Regions from separate parts of the Homo sapiens genome. Here region 1 is linked to region 2. Evidence: promoter capture Hi-C in human tissues and cell types (Jung and others, 2019). All regions are on one chromosome and are shown on one strand. The core of a region is centred on a gene start or on the middle of the fragment in contact, and the rest is flanking DNA. Distances in the headings are between cores, read along the strand shown. Region 1 overlaps IQCJ-SCHIP1 (IQCJ-SCHIP1 readthrough). Region 2 holds the start of IL12A (interleukin 12A).

Evidence for each region. Contacts are between HindIII fragments. The study calls those that stand out against the background at their distance.
Region 1: a contact is called between a fragment that was not itself captured here and the fragment with the promoter of IL12A in region 2, in 1 of the 25 tissues and cell types used here (aorta).

Annotation. Positions count from the first base shown.
Region 1 is chr3:159,623,372-159,629,178 of GRCh38, reverse strand. All of the region lies in intron 4 of IQCJ-SCHIP1 (IQCJ-SCHIP1 readthrough), which reads right to left. All of the region lies in intron 1 of SCHIP1 (schwannomin interacting protein 1), which reads right to left. Among named protein-coding and RNA genes, the nearest start is that of IQCJ-SCHIP1-AS1, 140 kb to the left of the region's middle. The HindIII fragment of the contact is 3,214 bases long and covers 1,743-4,956 here.
Region 2 is chr3:159,984,257-159,990,087 of GRCh38, reverse strand. IL12A (interleukin 12A) reads right to left here and starts at 1,253. Exons shown (of 7, transcript NM_001397992.1): 1 at 914-1,253. The coding sequence starts at 929. It overlaps IL12A-AS1 (IL12A antisense RNA 1), which reads left to right. Exons shown (of 10, transcript NR_108088.1): 9 at 795-991. RefSeq lists enhancers at 993-1,042, 542-1,042, 1,043-1,543, 2,395-3,594 and silencers at 1,163-1,212, 1,283-1,482. The HindIII fragment of the contact is 7,471 bases long and covers 1-5,027 here.

The sequences.
Region 1 (5,807 bases), core at 2,100-4,599, 360 kb after region 2:
ATAATGTAATCAAGTTGTGTGTGTGTGTGTGTGTGTTTTTGTTTAACTTCAAGTAACTTGATGAGTTACAGATACAGAATATATTATGCATTATCATTACCGTATTTTCAGCATGTATAATTGATAGAATGTACTCTTTTGAGTTTATCATCTATTATTTTTAGGATAATGTCTAAATAAAGGAAGATTCACTTTTTTTACCTCATCTTTTGTGTATTTTATAGAGACAATTTTTCTTAAAGAGTGGGCTTTGTCTATTCTCCACCAACTGTATGTTTTTATGATTTTATGTTGTATTTTTAGTAAATTTTTACACATAAAAAATCTTTAAAACATAATCAGGTGCTGCTTTGATATCTTTAATATTTCAGATTTTATGGCCATGCTATAAAGGTCATTTTGTGTTTTGTTATTTTTTATATTGTTTTATTGACCTTGTTTTACACATAGAAAATGCCTGTTAATAGCTATGTGTCTACATGTATTGTTGGCTTTTCCTAAATTCTGGGTTTAAATAAACAGGTATACCTTTGGGTTCTCATACATCTTTTACTTTCAATTCTTGTATTTTTTTCCATTTCTAGAATGTTTGTGTAATTCTTTCTTACAGATTCCAGGTCTTTGGTGAAATTCTATATCTTGTTTTGCATTTTCTTGAACCTAATAATCATAGTTATTTTAAAGTATGTCTGAAAAATCCAATATCTGCATCACTTGTACGTCAGCTTCCATTTTCTGTTTTTCTTCTTCTCTTGGTCCTAGTTCTTGGCATGCATGGTAACTTTAGATGAATGTCAGACACTGTGCATGAAGTATTGAAGATGCTCTGGATGATGTTAACTATTTTCCCAAATATATTCTGTCAGACAGGAGCAAACCTCCACAATTCGACCCTAACCCTCACAGCTCGTTCCAAGCTTTGTAAGTTGTTTCTTCTTCTGTTCACCTACATTTCTTGAGTGTAGGTCTCTAGTGTAAGTCCCTGAGTGCTTAGAGGTCTTCTCCTCTTTGGTGAGCCTTGAACTCCAACTTTGATCTCACAGCTCTACAAGACTGCTAAAAACTCCACTCCTCAGTTACTTTGGCTTCTTAGCCTCTTGCTCTTCAAAACTTAAGAATTAGCAAATGTCCTGAGATGAAAACTTGGTTAAAATGATGGGTTCACTTTTCTGCATTAATTTATTTCTTAGGATCTTGGTTCCCAAAGTTCTGACTGCTTTAGTAAGCCCAACCCTTTCCTCCAGCCAAATGAGGTTATGGAAAGCTCTATGGGTTTTATCTACCTTTCAGCAGCTGCCTTCCGTCCAAAACCACGTAAGAGTCAGCAAACACTTTTACAAGCATTGCAAAGCACACAATATTGACATTGCCTCAATAAATTTCTCTTCTCTTCGGGATCTTGGCCTCCAAGTCCTGGCAGCCTCAGAAACCCTCCAGTAGATTTTAAAAATAATTTGATTCAGCCTATCAAGTTGTTCTTCAGATGAATATTTTTCTTCATCATAGGCTCAACCTGGCTAGGCCATCTCACTAGGCGATGAACTCCCAGATAAGCAACATAGCACAACTTACTGGGAAGAATATGCCAGATAGACTTAGGTGCAAATCCTGGCTCAACCAGTTTCTAACCAATTTCTAGCTCTTGGGCAATTATTTTACATCTTTGATTCTTCATTTGTGTATCTGTAAAATGGGAATTATAATAGTACTTCCCTCATAGGGTGAGGATTAAATGAGGTAATTTGCTGAGAATAGTGTCTGGCAGACAGCCAGTGCCAAGTAAATGTTGTTTTCCTGTCTTTTCTCTGCCTGGGGCCATTCCTGTGGATAAAATATATTTGCCTCACCATGCAGTTTGAGAGAAAATAAAATATTTAAATAAATCTTTTACGGATAACTTAGAAGATTCTCTGCTACCATAGTGGCGTGGAGAAGTCCATGGTCTATAATTTCACTAATAATTACAAAAATGCCACAGTCTTTGCGGGGACATGGATGAAGCTGAAAACCATCATTCTCAGCAAACTAACACAGGAACAGAAAACCAAACAGTGCATGTTCTCATGCATAAGTGGGAGTTGAACAATGAGAACACATGGACACAGGGAGTGGAACAACACACACCGGGGCCCGTCGGGGTGGGGGCAAAGGGAGGGAGAGCATTAGAACAAATACCTAATGCACGTGGGGTTTAAAACCTAGATGATGGGTTGATAGCTGCAGCAAACCACCATGGCACATGTATAGCTATGTAAAAAACCTGCACATTCTGCACTTGTATCCCAGAACTTAAAAGCCTCAGTCAAATGGCAGCTGACTGGCAATATAATACTGTTTTGTCTAGGACACTTGCCAATCCCAATGCATGTACAAAAGGGAGGACAGGAATGCAATCTAGGAGACCAGCTTCTTCAGGGACTGCATCAGGGGACAACAAACCACACAACAGCCTGTAGAATCCTCACATGAGAAGGATACTTCTCACAACTGAATGGTCTTGTTAGTCTGGCCTGAATGTGAAAAAGCAAACTACTATCTACACCAGGCAAACTGTTATGTTTGCTAAGCTTTGTTTGGTGGATAAATTTTTTAACCTCTTGAGTTTACTATCACATTATATAATATAATGGGTCATTCATGCCCCAGACGACCCTTGTTGGACCACTGATAGAGAGCCACTAGTATAGAAACTGGTGACATCATGTCTGATTAGATCCTTCAAGAAACATGGGCAGGAAGGACTCCAGGTACCATCTGAGACAGTGGCTGTAAGTGATATAGCCCCTGAGGTGAAGGAAGATAGACTCCACAAGCCCTCATTCCCAAAGTAAATAACTTGCTTCCTTTTCTTTTGTTCTTTGGTTAAGGTAAAAAAAAATCTATCTATCTATCTATCTATCTATCTATCTATCTATCTATCTATCTATATAGATAGATAGATATATCTAGATATATATATATCTAGATATATCTATCTATCTATCTATCTATCTATCTAGATAGATAGATATATCTAGATATATATATATATCTAGATATATCTATCTATCTATCTATCTATCTATCTATCTATCTATCTATCTATCTATATAAGCTGCACTCTAGAGTGGGGAAGCCTTCAGTCTTAGTTTTAGAAGGTGCCACAAGTTTAGTATAGAGCAACTACCATCGCTGTTCATGTCAAATCCTCCTGAGGGGAAAGCTGCTGTTGACCCAGTATTGGTTTAACAGCATCTTTTTCCTATTCCACCAGACAGCCCTGTATTTGCTAGCTGGGTTCTTCTCTGTCCTCTACATGTAGGGAGAAGCACAGTTGATCTACGTATTAACTTGCTGAGACATAGGGAGGGTAATACAGAAGGGAGGGAAGCCGTGAAGCTTGAGTGTGAAGGATGAGTTTACTCTAGAGGCAGGTGGGTGGGGATAAGTTGGGAGTTAAGGAGAAAGGCTTTGGAGAAGCTGTGGGTTGGAACAGTGGTGTGCAGACAAACCAGCTTTCTGGAAACAAAAAAGAGCCCATTTGTAGCCTTTGCCCAGTTCCATGGTGTAAGAATTCCAACTACGGCTGATTGCAAACTACTAACGTGAAGCAAACTCGCTAGAAAAATTTAGTGCAACATTAGGTAGGAGGGAAATAAAGAGAAGAGAAAAAAGATTTAGTATTTTAATCATTTTAATATTCTTTGAGAAAGAGGACAGAACAATGCTGTTACTTTGGGCTCTTGAGGTACGTATTTGAAATGTAATGCTATTCGAACTGGTCCCCATAAGCTTCCTGGTTAATAAGGGTGACTCTCAGACCAAAAGAGAGAAACAGGACTTAAGTAGCTGAACACTTATTATGTGTGGGCTGTTTCACAAGCTTTATGCCATTTATGCCTCCCAAAACCCCTAGGAGGCAGGTGTGATTGGTATTATTTTACAGATGAGGAAATGCAGATTCAGAGATTCAAAGTGAGGCCATAGGGTTAGGAAGTGGGAGATTTAGGAGGTGGACCTGGTTTCTCTAGCTCCAAGGGCCAAGGTTTTATCAGCACACTGCGCTGCACAGACCCCTGGTTCCACAGACCCAAGGCAAAGGTGATTGAGTTGTCTTAAGTCTGTTGTTTGTTGCTTTTCCTCAAAAGACCACTGTTCTCATGTTCTTGTTTTCTCTAACTGCCTCTTCCTTTCCTGTAGTGGCTCCTTTTATTCCAAAATTCAATATATAATGCTGGTTCAAGTGCATTGCAAACTTTCATCTCAGTGTGAGGGTTTTAGAGGGTATAAACCTTGCACACAAGGGAAGCTACAAGTTTAGGCTCAGGCTATCCAGGGAGATTGCCAAAGCCAAAAATCCCAAACAAGTCCCTCAGGTGCTGTGACTCACAACCTTTTCGTTGGAAGGCTCTTCTAGTTCTTCCTTGGGGCCCTGGATCTCTGGGTCATGGTGGTTCTTATTAGCTTAGCTCAAGATTGCTTCCTTAGCCCAAATTTAGCTATTATTTGTAGCTGCCCTTTCAATCTCCAGCCAAGTAGATGCCTATCTGCCTTCCACCCCCAATCTCCACGGCCTTAGGTGTCACTCGTTAAGTGGGTGAGTCGATAATCCATGAATTTTGGGTAAAACACACACCTCTAGGCCCAGTTATTATTCCATCTTCTAGCTTCTTGTTCTCTGCATGGTTTCTCCCTAATTACCCTGCATTTCTCCACCTCTAGGATTTGTCTGTCCTGGACACAGATCACCTCCATGCTGGGAGAATATTATACCTTTGCCCGTTAAAGGCAATCACTGAGTTGTCCAGAGGAAGCCTGATAGACTTTAATGTAAAAATGTTAGAAGTACCTGGATGAGTACTTGGAAAGCTGGAGAGTACAGGTCTATTAAAGTATGGTCTTGGCGTCACAGGTTACTTTGATTCCATTTAACAGTGAATTTATTTTCAAATCTCATGTTCTTGATCTGGAATATGGAACTATTAATGGAACATATTTTAGAGGGTTGCTGTGAGGATCAAATGTGATAATGCATATCTAATTGTGCTAATGCTTAGCACAATTCCTGGGCCAATAAAGAGTAACCATTATATATTTTTTTAATTTTGCACTATACATATTTCACAAGATACCTTTGCCATATGAAATAGTAACAATTTGTTCTTTGATTGACTAGTTATACATTAACTTGGAAACATCAGATTTCTGCCTTGTAGGAGAATCTTGTCCCTCCTATAATCAAGAGGCTTAGACTCAGGTGGAAGGCAGTGGGAGTAGGGAACACCTTTTATCATGGACTTAGCATTCCCAAGTTGTCTACTTTTGTGAGAGAAAGAAAACGTGGGGTATGGGCAAAATAGAGATTCTTTTTAAATTAAGGCAGAGCTTAAATGTGATCCTAGGGTTTTATGGGGTACACTACATTCTCTCTGCAGGATTCTTTTACCCAAAATCTTCCAAATTTTATACAAGTACCCTACAGCCTGCACCTGAACATTTACTTTTCCTACTAAAGGTAATGTAAGAAGCAGTTTCCATGTAAAGTGGAAAACTCTTTGTTTATTTATTTATTTAGAGATGGAGTCTCACTCTGTCACCCAGGTTGGAGTGCAGTGGCACGATCTCAGCTCACTGCAACCTCTGCCTCCCAGGTTCAAGCAATTCTCTTGCCTCAGCCTCCTTGGTAGCTGGGATTACAGGCATGCGCCACCATGCCCGGCTAATTTTTGTGTTTTTAGTAGAGACGTGGTTTCACCATGTTGACCAAGCTGGTCTCGAACTCCTAACCTCAGGTGATCCGCCTCCCTCAGCCTCCCAAGTAAAACTGT
Region 2 (5,831 bases), core at 4-2,503:
TCACCCATCCATTCATGCTTGGCACCCACCTCCCTCAACCCATTTCCAACACTTTTCCTTCAACACCTGAGAGATGACTCGAGTTATTACAAAGCGCCACTCTATTCTAGGGCTAGAAGCCAGCTCCCTGTGAGGGTCTAGAGATGAGCTTGGACAAGGGTGTTGAACCCAACACTCACCCAGAGAAAGCCTACATGTTTTTGATCAGGGAAACCCAGACCAGGTGGTGAAGTGGCTGAGTCAGACTTGGGACCCAGTGTTTTAAAAACAGTGGAGTGAGAAAGCCTGACTTTTTTTGTTTTTTTAAGACGGAGTCTCACTCTGTGGCCCAGACTGGAGTGCAGTGGCACGATTTTGGCTCACTGCAACCTCCACCTCCGAGTTCAAGCAATTTTCCCTGCCTTAGACTCCCGAGTAGATGGGATTACAGGCACCCACCACCACACTCGGCTAATTTGTGTATTTGTTAGTAGAGACGGGGTTTCACCATGTTGGTCAGGCTGGTCTTGAACTCCTGACCTCAGGAGATCTGTCCGCCTTGGCCTCCCAAAGTGCTGGGATTACAGGCGTGAGCCATTGCACCCGGCCAAGCCTGACTTTAGAACTGGCTAGGATCTGCCTTCTGTTTGTAGCTGAGGGACCCTAGGCAGGAAAGCAGGAAATCTCCCACGCTGGGCCTCAGTTTCTCCTCTACGAAGTGGGCATAATGATAGCTCATCAGGCTGTTTCGAGATGAAAAGAGACATGCCCTATTTAGCACACGGTGAGACCCCTATTCTTATTCCTCTTTGCAGGAGACGGCTGCTGCTGTTCCAGTCTCTCCTTAGGCAGACTTGAGTTTCTACCCACTCTTCCCAAGCAGCCGCCCCTCCGCACCCGAGCGAGCCAAAGACCTGGCGGGCTGAGTACTCACTGCGCGCTGGACACATGCTGAGCCGGCACTGCAGGGACACAGGGCGAGCCGCTGGATGCAGACCTGTGGCCGCGGCAGGTGAGGGCGGTGGCTGGGAGGCTGACCCAGGGGGCCACATTTTTATAATTGTCCCGAGGCGCGGCAGGACTTTCCCGGGACTCTGGTCTCTTGCTTTCTGTCTCCTTCTGTGTCTCTCTCTACATCAGCTTCTCGGTGACACGTGCGGTGCGGCCGGCCCGCGGGGCTTGCGGCGCTTTCGGATTAACTCCCGGGGTGCCCGGCCGCAGCCGTTCCGGGACGGCCCCGCCGCCTCCAGCTCGGCCCAAAATGAAAGCGAAATGTTCGCAGTTACTGCGCGGGGTCCACAGGCGGGCGGGACACCCCGCCCACCACCCTGGGTCCCCGGCCTTAGCCGGACGCCCCGTGTCTAAGCTACCCCGCCCCGCAGCTGTGCAGCGCCCCCTGCCGACGTAGAGAGAGGAGTGCCTCCCACTTTGCATGTCCTGCGTAGGGATGGGCCCTAACCACGACCTCCAGCCTAGTACTGGAAGGGGTAGGCAAATCATTCACTCATCATCGTTCCTTTAGATGGCTCACTAGATGCCAGGCCGACGTTGCACCAGGTGCAGGACACCCAGGGAGAACAGGACCCTTGGGGCATTGCCACACTAAATCAGACTCAAGGCGTTTTGTTCACAGGTCTTTTCTGAAACCTGAAAAGGGATGAGAGCTGGCTGACTCTGCAATTATTACTCTTGTAGAGAATCCAGTTTAACGATAGGATGAATACACAGAGTCCTGGGAGGAAAGACCTAGAGAAAGAGCCCACGCTCAGCCGGAGCAACGGGGTCCAGGAGTCAGCAAAGGCTCCCGGGAGCAGGCAGGGGCCCCAACCTGAGTGTTAAAAACAAGCAGGCATTAGACCGCTTCCAGCGGGAGGGCACGCAGGGTCTAGCCAGGGGAAACAGGGATCAGAAGCGCAGTCATGAAGGGTTGAGGGAGGTGGGGGTCTAGGTGTCCTTGCAGGGTGTGAGGCTGGAGGGCTGGATGGGGCCATGCCATGAGGGCAGGGGATGCCATACTAAGGAGTGTACTTTCTGTGCTGAGAGTAGTGGGGAGTCTTCCTGGGTTTTAGGCGGGAGATGTGGCAGAATTTGCATGATGGGGGGATCCCTTCAGCCACAGCATGAAGGATGGATCCAGGGGTCAGGAGTAGAGCAGAGGGAAGAGTTGACAAGGTGTGGCCAAGTCCTTATTCAGTATGGAGAACACAGGGTGGGCAGGAGGGACTCTCAGAGGGCTTGTGGGCCAAGGCTTGGTAGCTCCTCAGGTGAGCGGGAGAGGAAGGCCCTGAGAATGGGGAATGGAGATTGTTCTAGCTTTACAGGGATTACTGTATAAGAGGACTGAGTTTGGAGGAGATGGTGAGAAGTTCCATTTTGGATGTGCTGGGTTTGAGGTTCCTGTGGGACTTTTTAGTTCAGTTGTTTTTCCCACAGGCATTAGTCACCCTAGGCGTGGGTAGTGGGGAGGATGTGTTTGATCTCTGACTTGGAGCTTCCAAAGGGCCTGACTACACCCAGGCCCTAGGACCTAATAACTGGAGCTGCCTTCTGGGTGGCTCATCTGCTCGAAGCTGATGAAGCACGGCTGTAGGGAGTTTTAGGTGTGTGTAAAATAAGAGAAATGGTTGATCTCTAAGGCCCCTTCTAATGCTGCTGTCTGAGAATTCCCCCACGGGATACAGAGTAATCCATTGTCAGAAACAATTGCGTTTAGCAGTTTGTCTAGAGCAAATGACAGGTGCAGAGCTGTGTTGTGGCCACAAGGGTTTAGTGTGGAGTTAAATGTACTTAAAGTCAGGATGAAGACAAGTGTATCACAACTGAGCTGTTTCTCCCCTGGAAGGGCCATCTCCTATACAAAAGTAATTTCTGTTGCTTAGATGAGCACAGGGCCACTGTTAAAAATGGATTATTGGCTACCAGACACAGTTTCTAATTTACATTTTTGTGAAATAGTTTCCTGAAGTGCTCCATGTCCTCTAGCTAAGATGAAATGAAAACCTTCTTCTAGGAATACATGATTTTTCTATAAGTGACAGTCTTAGCTCACAATCACTACTTCACAGTGTGTAGCATTGTCGTGGAGGTCTCGGCCAATGCTATAAGGAAAGAAAAAGAAATGAGAGCTTTAAACATTGGAAAAGAAAAGGTAAAACTGTCACTTTTTACAGTTGATATACAAAAAGAAAAAAAATTAATAGACTATTAGAACTAAGAAGAGAATTTAACAACATCATGCAATACACATATCAACTTAAAAAAAATCAGCCGATTTTCTTTGTATCTGCAACAATCCATCAGAAAATGTAATAAAAACAAGATGACATGCATAGAAGCAGCCAAACTATAAAGTAACTGACTGTAGATACAGAGGCAGTATAATGGCTAAGAGTATGGACTAAACTATGTTAATCCAGGTTCTGCTACTTACTTGCTGTGTGTTCTTAGGTGAGTTATTTATCTCTCTGGGCTCAGTTTCCTCATCTGTTAAATGATGATAATAAAAGTACCTACAGTATAGAGTTATTATGATTATTACATGAGCTTGGATAACTACAGAATAGTGTTTGGAGAAAAATTTTAAAGTTCAGTCAAGAATATAGTGTGATTTAATTAAATAATTCTATACCCTTGGGTGGAAGGTTTCTCTATATAGAAAGCTTAAGCCTCTTTTCGTTAATTCACATGCTCAATGTAATTCCAATACAAGCTACAAATAAATTTTCTCAGAAACTTAATAATAAGCCTACTCTAAAATACAGATGTAATAAAATCTATGACTAAGTTAAAAAAATTTTTTTTGAGACATGGTTTTACTGTATCACCCAGGCTGGAGTGTAGTGGTGGCACAGTCACAGCTCACTGCAGCCTTGACCTCCTGGGCTAAAGTGATCCTCCCACTTCAGCCTCCTGAGTAGCTTGGACCACAGGCAACACCATCATGTCCAGCTAATTTTTATTTTTGTATTTTGTAGAGACGGAGTCTAGTTTTGTTGCCTAGGCTGGTCTCAAACTCCTGGGCTCAAGTGATCCACCCACCTTGGCCTCCCAAAGTGCTGGGATTACAGGCGTGAGCTGCTGTTCCTGGCCTTAAGTAAAAATGCTAAGGGAATAATGAAAAGGGGGACTAACCCTATCACATATGGACATAATTTAAAGCCATAGAAATTAAAGTAGTGATCTTTGCAACAGATCAGGCATATGGACCATTGAAACAGAGTAGAGAAATTATAGATAGATTTGTATATTTGGGTATTAAGTATAAGATAATACAGATGATTCCCTGATCAATGAGGAAAACATGCAATATTTAGTAGAAAATACTCAATGGGCTGGGCATAATGGCTCACACCTGTAATCCCAGCACTTTGGGAGGTCAAGGCAGGAGAATTGCTTGAGGTCAGTAGTTCAAGGCCAGTCTGAGCAAAAACTCCCTACAAAAAATTTTTTTAAAAAGAGAAAATGTTCAGCGTATGATGAAAAATAAAACTGGACTCCAATCTAAAACAACAGAGGTGAATCCATTTGGAAGTGAATTAAAGACCAAATGTGAAAAGTAAAATTGTTACAGTAGTAGAAGAAAATATAGAGGACTGTCTTTGTCACTTATAAGTGGGAAGGACTTTTTTAAAACTTCTAAAGCTCCAAACCATAAGGCAAAATACCTATCAATTGGATTACATAAAAATGAAGATTTCTGTTTTACACATTTCCTCTATGCATGAACCAAATGAACAGACAGCTGACAGATTGAGAGAAGATATTTTTCAGTGTCTAAAACCAATATTTTCAATGTCTAAAAACAAGGAACTCTTGTAAGTCAGCAAGAAAAAGACAGAAACACTAGTAAAAAATGCGTAAAGCTCATGAATAAGCAATTTAACGAGAAGAAACCCCAAAGACTAATGAGCATACCTGGAGGCTCAGTTATATCAGAAAATGCAAATGAAAAAAAGAATGAGATATCTCTTTACACCTCTTAGACTGACAAGTTGAGAACACTGGATACTGGTAAGTGTTGGGAAAATGGGGGACTACAGGATCTATTATATCACACCATGCCAGTAGGCTGACATGGCTGTTTTGAAGGGTATTCTGGCATTCCTTGACCAGATTAAGTATATTCACACCCATGACCCAGCTGTTAACCCTGGGTGTATATCCTATGGAGATTCTCATACAGGTCCACAAAGGAACATGTATGAGGATGTTCATTAAGTCATTGTTTGTAGTGATGGGGAACTGGAGGCAATGTAGCTGCTCATTACTGGGGGAGTGGGTGAGTGGAATGTAGGGATCCACTTCATGGAGTATTCTACGGCAGTTAGAAGTAATAGACTAGATGTACATGCAGTAACATGGATATGTATTAAAAATATAATACTGAGTAAAAACAGGAAAACAGAGTAAGATCTCTCTCTATAATGTATAAGTAGACAATTAAAACCCTTTGGGGCTGGGCACAGTGGCTCATGCCTGTAATCCAAGCACTTTGGGAAGCCAAGGAAAGTGGATTGCTTGAACCCAGGAGTTTGAGACCAGCCTGGGCAACATAGGGATTCCCCATCTCCACAAAAAATACAAAAATTAGTCAGGCATGGTGGCACATGCCTGTACTCCCACCTACCAAGTAGGCTGAGGTGGGAGGATCACCTGAGCCCGGAAGGTCAAGGCTATAGTGAGCCATGATTGTGTCACTGTACTCTAACCTGGGCAACAGAGTGAGACCCTGTCTCACTTAAAAGAAAAGAAAAAGGAAAGAAAGAAAAAGAAAAAAATGGGGGGGCTCAGATTTGTTTTTGGAATTCAAAATGCTTGGAATTTAGAAAAGGAAGAGGTGGCATCGCATAATC